2 separate regions of the Homo sapiens genome follow, and region 1 is linked to region 2. The links are contacts of gene promoters, found by promoter capture Hi-C in blood cells and fetal thymus (Javierre and others, 2016). All regions are on one chromosome and are shown on one strand. Each heading gives the region's core, a stretch centred on a gene start or on the middle of the fragment in contact. The rest is flanking DNA. Distances are from core to core; before and after follow the strand shown. Region 1 overlaps CSTPP1 (centriolar satellite-associated tubulin polyglutamylase complex regulator 1). Region 2 holds the start of RAPSN (receptor associated protein of the synapse).

Region 1 (3,287 bases), core at 522-3,021, 300 kb after region 2:
CTTGTGTCCCCACTAGCCAATTTTATCAGACCATAACGTCTTACTATCTTTGCTTCAGTTTTTAAAAGCTTTGTAAAATGCAGCATTACAGATACCATTTCAGCCACCTGTGCACCCCTCCCTCATCCTATCCTCTACCTTTCTTCCTGGGGGGATCACCATGATTTACTAAAACTTGGGAGTCTAGCATTCCTCTGCATGTCTTTATACTATAATTAACTCATGCAAATGTCTGTGTTCTTAAAACATTATATAGCTTTGTTTTGCTTTTTCTCAAACTCTGTGTCATTCTGTAACTTTGATATTTTGAGATTCATCAGGATTGATGCATATATAGCTATTCATTTTAGCTGCTGGAAAGAATTCCACAACTATGGTATGAATATGCCACACTTTATTCTTTCCTTCAGCAGAGGGACGTGCAGATTGTTCCAATGGCGGCCATTACAAACAATACTGCATGTTTCCTTATTCCCAGGAGTAGCTCTTGAACTTTAAAAATTTGCCTAAATTGTCTGAAAGTAATTGTAACAATTTACACTCCCACACACAGTTTATGAGAGTTCCCACTATTTCACATCCTCACCAATATTTGTATTATGAGACTTTAAAATTTTTGCCAATTTGATAGGTATGAAGTGGTATCTCAATTTAGTTGGGAGTTTCCTGATTACTAGTGAGTGTGGGCATGAAAATATGCCCAAAGGTTTATTACTAATGTTCTTCTGTGCATTGCCTGTTTATATCTTTGGACTATTTTTCTACTGAGATCCTTAATCTTTTTCTTATTGATTTGTAGGAATTCTTTTTTTTTTTTTTTTTTTTGAGACAGAGTTTCATTCTTGTTGCCCAGGCTGGAGTGCAGTGGCACGGTTTCGGCTCACTGCAATCTCCACCTCCCGGGTTCAAGTGATTCTCCTGCCTCAACCTCCCAAGTAGCTGGAATTACAGGCGCCCGCCACCATGCCCGGCTAATTTTTTTGTATTTTTAGTAGAGAGGAGGTTTCACTATGTTGACCAGGCTGGTCTTGAACTCCTGACTTCAGGTGATCCACCCGCCTCGGCCTCCCAAAGTGCTGGGATTACAGGCGTGAGCCACTGTGCCCAGCCAATTTGTAGGAATTCTTTATTAAAAAGTTCTTAGCTGGGTGTGGTGGTGTGCACCTGTAGTCCCAGCTACTTGGGAGGCTGAGGCAGGAAAACTGCCTGAGCCTGGGAGCTTGAGTCTAGCCCCAGCAACACAGCAAGACCCCATCTTAAAATAAAATAAAATAAAATAAAATAAAATAATTTACGGAAAGCTGAGGCAGGAGGAATGCCTGAGGCCAGGAGTTCGAGACCAGCCTGAGCAACACAGCAAGATCACTGCCCCCATCTCTACAAAATAAAAAATTAGCTGGGCTTTGTAGAACGTGCCTATGGTCCTAGCTACTCAGGAGGCTGAGGTGGGAAAATCACTTGAGCACAGGAGTTTGAGGCTGTAGTGAGCTATGAATGCACCACTGCACTCCAGCCTGTGTGACAGAACAAGACCTCATTTCAAAAAATAATAACATTTTTTAAATAATTTTTTTTGGGAGGGACAGAGTCTTGCTATGTCACCCAGGCTGGAGTGCAATGGTGCGATCTCAGCTCACTGCAACCTCTGCCTCCCGGGTTCAAGCAGTTCTCCTGCCTCAGCCTCCTGAGTAGCTGGGATTCCATAGGTGCGTGCCACCCCACCCGACTAATTTTTGTATTTAGTAGAGATGGGGTTTCTTTTTAGTAGAGACGGGGTTTCACCATGTTGGCCAGGCTGGTCTCGAACTCCTGACCTCAAGTGATCCACCTGCCTTTGCCTCCCAAAGTGCTGGGATTACAGGCGTGTGCCACCATGCCCAGCCAGAATAAGAATGCAGGCAATACAGCCGGGTGCGGTGGCCCACGCCTGTAATGCCAGCATTTTGGGAGGCCGAGGCAGGCAGATCATAAGGTCAAGAGATTGGGACCATCCTGGCCAACAGTGTGAAACCCAGTCTCTACTAAGAATACAAAAATTAGCCAGGCATGGTGGTGCGTGCCTGTAGTCCTAGCTACTTGGGAGGCTGAGGCGAGAGAATCGCTTGAACCTGGGAGGCGGAGGTTGCAGTGAGCTCAGATCATGCCACTGCACTCCAGCCTGGTGACAGAGCAAGACTCTATCTCAAAAAAAAAAAAAAAAAAAAAAAAAATGGCAGGCAATACTTTAAATCAGTGGTTCTCAACGTGTGTTTCCCAGACCATCAGTATCACCTGGGAATTTTTTAGAAATATAAATTATTGAGCCCCGCCCTAAACCTACTGAACTCTGGGGATGTGGTCCGGCCATGTGTGGTTTAACAAGCCCTGCAGGTGACTCTGATGCATGCTCAAGTTTGAGAACCAGTGCTTTAAATCTTCACCCTTGGAGCAGAGCTTCCCAACCCTTTGTCACTTCGGCCTCAAATGACTTACAGATGTGATGGTCCCCTTGGCCCAGCTGGGAGGAGGCCAGAGCCTGCAGGCCAATCACAAGAAGTCTTGTCTTTACTGGAGATTTTTGTTATATATTATTTTCTGATTGCTGTGAAGTGCAAAAAGGCCAGGAAGCATTGCCTTTGGAAACCCAGGAACATCTCATTTTTCTTTTAATCTGGTACTATTAATAATACCAACATAATTGTAACAGCAAGAAATTACTACTGGCCAGGCGTGGTGGCTCATGCCTGTAATCCCAGTATTTTGGGAGGCTGAGGTAGGCAGATCGCTTGAGGTCAGGAGTTCGAGACCAGCCTGGCCAACATGGTGAAACCCCGTCTCTACTACAAATACAAAAAATTAGCAAGGCGTGGTGGCGGGCATCTATAATCCTAGCTACTTGGGAGGCTGAGGCACAAGAATCACTTGAACCCAGGAGGCGGAGGTTGCAGCGAGCTAAGATCACGCCACTGCACTCCAGCCTGGGCAACAGAGCAAGACTTCATCTAAAAAAAAAATTATTACTGATTTAATGTCTACAATGTGGTAAGCAGTGTTCATGGTTTTGTTGGTGTTACTGAAATCTTACAAACACCCTATGAGTTAGTTACTATTATTATTATCATCCCCATTTTACAGATATAAAAACAGGGCTCAGAGAAGTTAAGAGATATCCTCAAGGTCATCCAGTTAATGGGGCACAGGTGGGATGTACAGTAGATCTTTCTAATGCCATGGGGCCTGTGTTCTTCTAGGTCAAGGTTAATATTACCATTTCTAACGATTATGACAAGTTTACTCTGTGCCAGCCA
Region 2 (3,173 bases), core at 674-3,173:
GGGAGGTGAAGGTTGCAGTGAGCCAAGATGGCACCACCACACTCCAGCCTGGGTGACAGAGGGAAAGTGTCTCAAAAAAAAAAAAAAGTATTGTGGTCAGGCATGGTGGCTCACGCCTATAACCCCAATACTTCGGGAGGCTCTGAGGCAGGTGGATCAACTGAGGTCAGAAGTTCAAGACCAGCCTGACCAACATGGTGAAACCCCGTCTCTACTAAATACAAAAACTTAGCCAGGCGTGGTGGCATACACCTGTCATCCCAGCTACTTGGGAGGCTGAGGCAGGAGAATTGCTTGAACCCGGGAGGTAGAAGTCTCAGTGAGCTGAGATTGTGCCACTGCACTCCAGCCTATGCAACAAGAGCAAAACTCCGTCTCAAAAATAATTTTTAAAAATAAAAATTTATTGTTTATTTATTTTTTGAGACAAGGTCTTGCTCTGGTGCTCAGGCTGGAGTGCAGTGGCACAATCACGGCTCACTGAAACCTCCACCTCCAGGAGTTCAAGACCAGCCTGGGCAACATGGTGAAACCCATCTCTACAAAAACTAGACAGCTGTGGTCTCAGCTACCCAGGAGACTGAGGTGGGAGGGTCACTTGAGCCTAGGAGGTAGAGGTTGCAGTGAGCTGTGACTGCACCACTGCACTCCAGCCTAGGTGACAGAGTGAGACCCTGTCTCAAAAAAAAGGGGGGGGGGATACCAGTCTTAACTGGATGAGGTACAATGTGACTTCATTTTACCTTAATCACCCTTTAAAGACCCTGTCTCCAAAGACAGTCACCTTATGAGATACTGAGTGTTAGGACTTAAACATATGCGTTTGGTTGCGGGGGGACATGATTCAGTCATATCAAGGTGGGGAATGGAGTGGTGTAACTGCTGATGGGTGTGCGTCTCCTTTTTGGGGTGGTTAAAATGTTCTGGAATTAGTGGCAATTAATGTGCATCTCTGTGAATATACTAAAAACCACTGAATTGCCCAGCCAGAAAGGATAAACTTTTGCCCTGGGGCAGGAAGAAGGCTGGCATGCAGAGAGAGGAGAAAGGGGGGCTGGATGAGCTGGCCTGCTAGCGGGGGCCCCAATACTACATAAGACCTTGCCCTTCTCCACAGTATCTGGTGTTAAATCTCATTATGAGGACCCTTTCAGCCCGGGGTTGGGATTGGAAGTGAGACATTGAAACTTCAAGGGCTGGGTTCTGGCCCGGGTGGGGATTTGCCATGGAGCAAAATAGCCTCTTGCAGCACATGCGGGGTTTCCTGTGCCGGGCACTGTCCTAAGTCCTTCTCAACTCTTTCGTCATTGAGTTCTCATAGCAGTCCAGTGAGCCAGGTACCATTCCTCTCTTCAGTCCACGGTGCCAGGTCACTTGGCTAGGGTCCCACTGAGAGTTCGAAGGAAGCCAGGCTAGAGCTCAGGCCTCTCACCAGCTGGAGGTCTTTCCCAGACTCTCTAAGGTGAGAGTTGGTGAATGGTGTCAGCCTGGGCCTGGATGAGTGACCCACGGTGCTCAGTGAATTTCAGGAACAGAGCCAGGGGATGCTGCGGTCAGGGGTGTCTTGATGGGGAAGAAGCAGGGCTGGGCGCTCACCTGGCTTCCCCGGACCTGCAGGTCCAGCCTCGCTCTCCTTCCCCCGAGCACCTCTAGCCCAAGGCCTGCCCACTTGCTGGAGCTGGCCCCTTGGCAAGGCTGCTGGGAGGGCCCGTGCTGCCAGGGCGGTCAGGGTCAGTGTCAGAGGTGCCTAAGGGACGCCCAAGGGGGTGCCCAGGTGGCAAGGTGCCTGTATGCTCAGGGAAGCCACGTCCCAGCTCGCGGGTGGGTGCAGCAGAGGCCCACGTGACCTTGCTGCTGACATTCCTCAGAGGCCATGTGGCCCCAACTGGCAGCGACAGCTGCAGACGGGCTGAACCAGCTTTGTTCCCAGGGTGGCGCCTGCTCTCCATCCAGGCCCCATTCCGGCTCCCACCCGACGCTGCTTTTGTTCCCACGTTTCGGGGGGCAGCTGGCACTGTGATTCCTGCCCCATGAGTGCCTAGAGGCACGGAGCCACCAGGGATCACCCCACGTGGGACACAGGGCTTGGGGAGGATGGGGCAGGACCAGACCAAGCAGCAGATCGAGAAGGGGCTCCAGCTGTACCAGTCCAACCAGACAGAGAAGGCATTGCAGGTGTGGACAAAGGTGCTGGAGAAGAGCTCGGACCTCATGGGGCGCTTCCGCGTGCTGGGCTGCCTGGTCACAGCCCACTCGGAGATGGGCCGCTACAAGGAGATGCTGAAGGTGGGTGTACCCGGCCTGGGGGCGTTCGAGGGTCAGGCTGGGGCCGGATGTCTCCCAGGCTCCCCAGTCCCCTCTCGGCCTCCTCGGGCTCCCCTGTGTCCCACAGGCTGGCAGCCAGGGCCCGAGGCTCTGAATTTATATCTAAGGCCCTGGGTCTTAGATACTGAGTCTTGGCATCAGATTCAGGCCTGTGGCCTTGAACTGTGGTGCCCGAGTCTCTGAGACTGAGGTTCTCCAGCCTCAGGGTCGAGGGTTTGTGGGTCTCAAGCCCATTGTAGGTTTCAGCCTTCCTGTCTGGTGTTCTGTGTCTGAGCCTGGCGGGGTGTGGGCTCCAGGGTTGCGGCTGGGGGTGGGTGGGTGGTGGAGACTCCAGATCTGAGGCTTGGGATAGAAGGTGAAGGCTGCAAGCCTGAGCTTGGGAGGTGAGGCTGGGGTGTAGGGAAGGTAGCTGAGGCTGGCGGGTAGAAGCTCTGGGTCTGAAAAGAAGCTTTGGGATCTGCTGCTTTGGGTGTGAGGCTGGGGGGTGGGTGTGGGGCCTCCAGGTCTGAGCCTGCAGTGCAGGCTGGGGTCCAAGGCTCAGAGTCCAGGCTGAGCACCACCTGCCCACCGTCGCTGTGTGCAGTTCGCTGTGGTCCAGATCGACACGGCCCGGGAGCTGGAGGATGCCGACTTCCTCCTGGAGAGCTACCTGAACCTGGCACGCAGCAACGAGAAGCTGTGCGAGTTTCACAAGACCATCTCCTACTGCAAGACCTGCCTTGGGCTGCCTGGTACCAGGGCAGGTGCCCAGCTCGGAGGCCAGGTCAGCCTGAGCATGGGCAATGCCTTCCTGGGCCTCAGCGTCTTCCAGAAGGCCCTGGAGAGCTTCGAGAAGGCCCTGCGCTATG

Evidence for each region. The method cuts DNA at HindIII sites, captures the fragments that hold promoters and counts their contacts. A CHiCAGO score of 5 or more calls a contact.
Region 1: a fragment that was not itself captured here is called in contact with the fragment with the promoter of RAPSN in region 2 in 1 of 17 cell types (neutrophils); the score reaches 5.3 in neutrophils.

What each region holds. Positions count from the first base shown.
Region 1 is chr11:47,143,904-47,147,190 of GRCh38, reverse strand. All of the region lies in intron 4 of CSTPP1 (centriolar satellite-associated tubulin polyglutamylase complex regulator 1), which reads right to left. Among named protein-coding and RNA genes, the nearest start is that of ARFGAP2, 31 kb to the left of the region's middle. The HindIII fragment of the contact is 3,402 bases long and covers 71-3,287 here.
Region 2 is chr11:47,447,886-47,451,058 of GRCh38, reverse strand. RAPSN (receptor associated protein of the synapse) reads left to right here and starts at 1,923. Exons shown (of 8, transcript NM_005055.5): 1 at 1,923-2,286; 2 at 2,909-3,173. The coding sequence starts at 2,095. The HindIII fragment of the contact is 3,655 bases long and covers 1-2,775 here.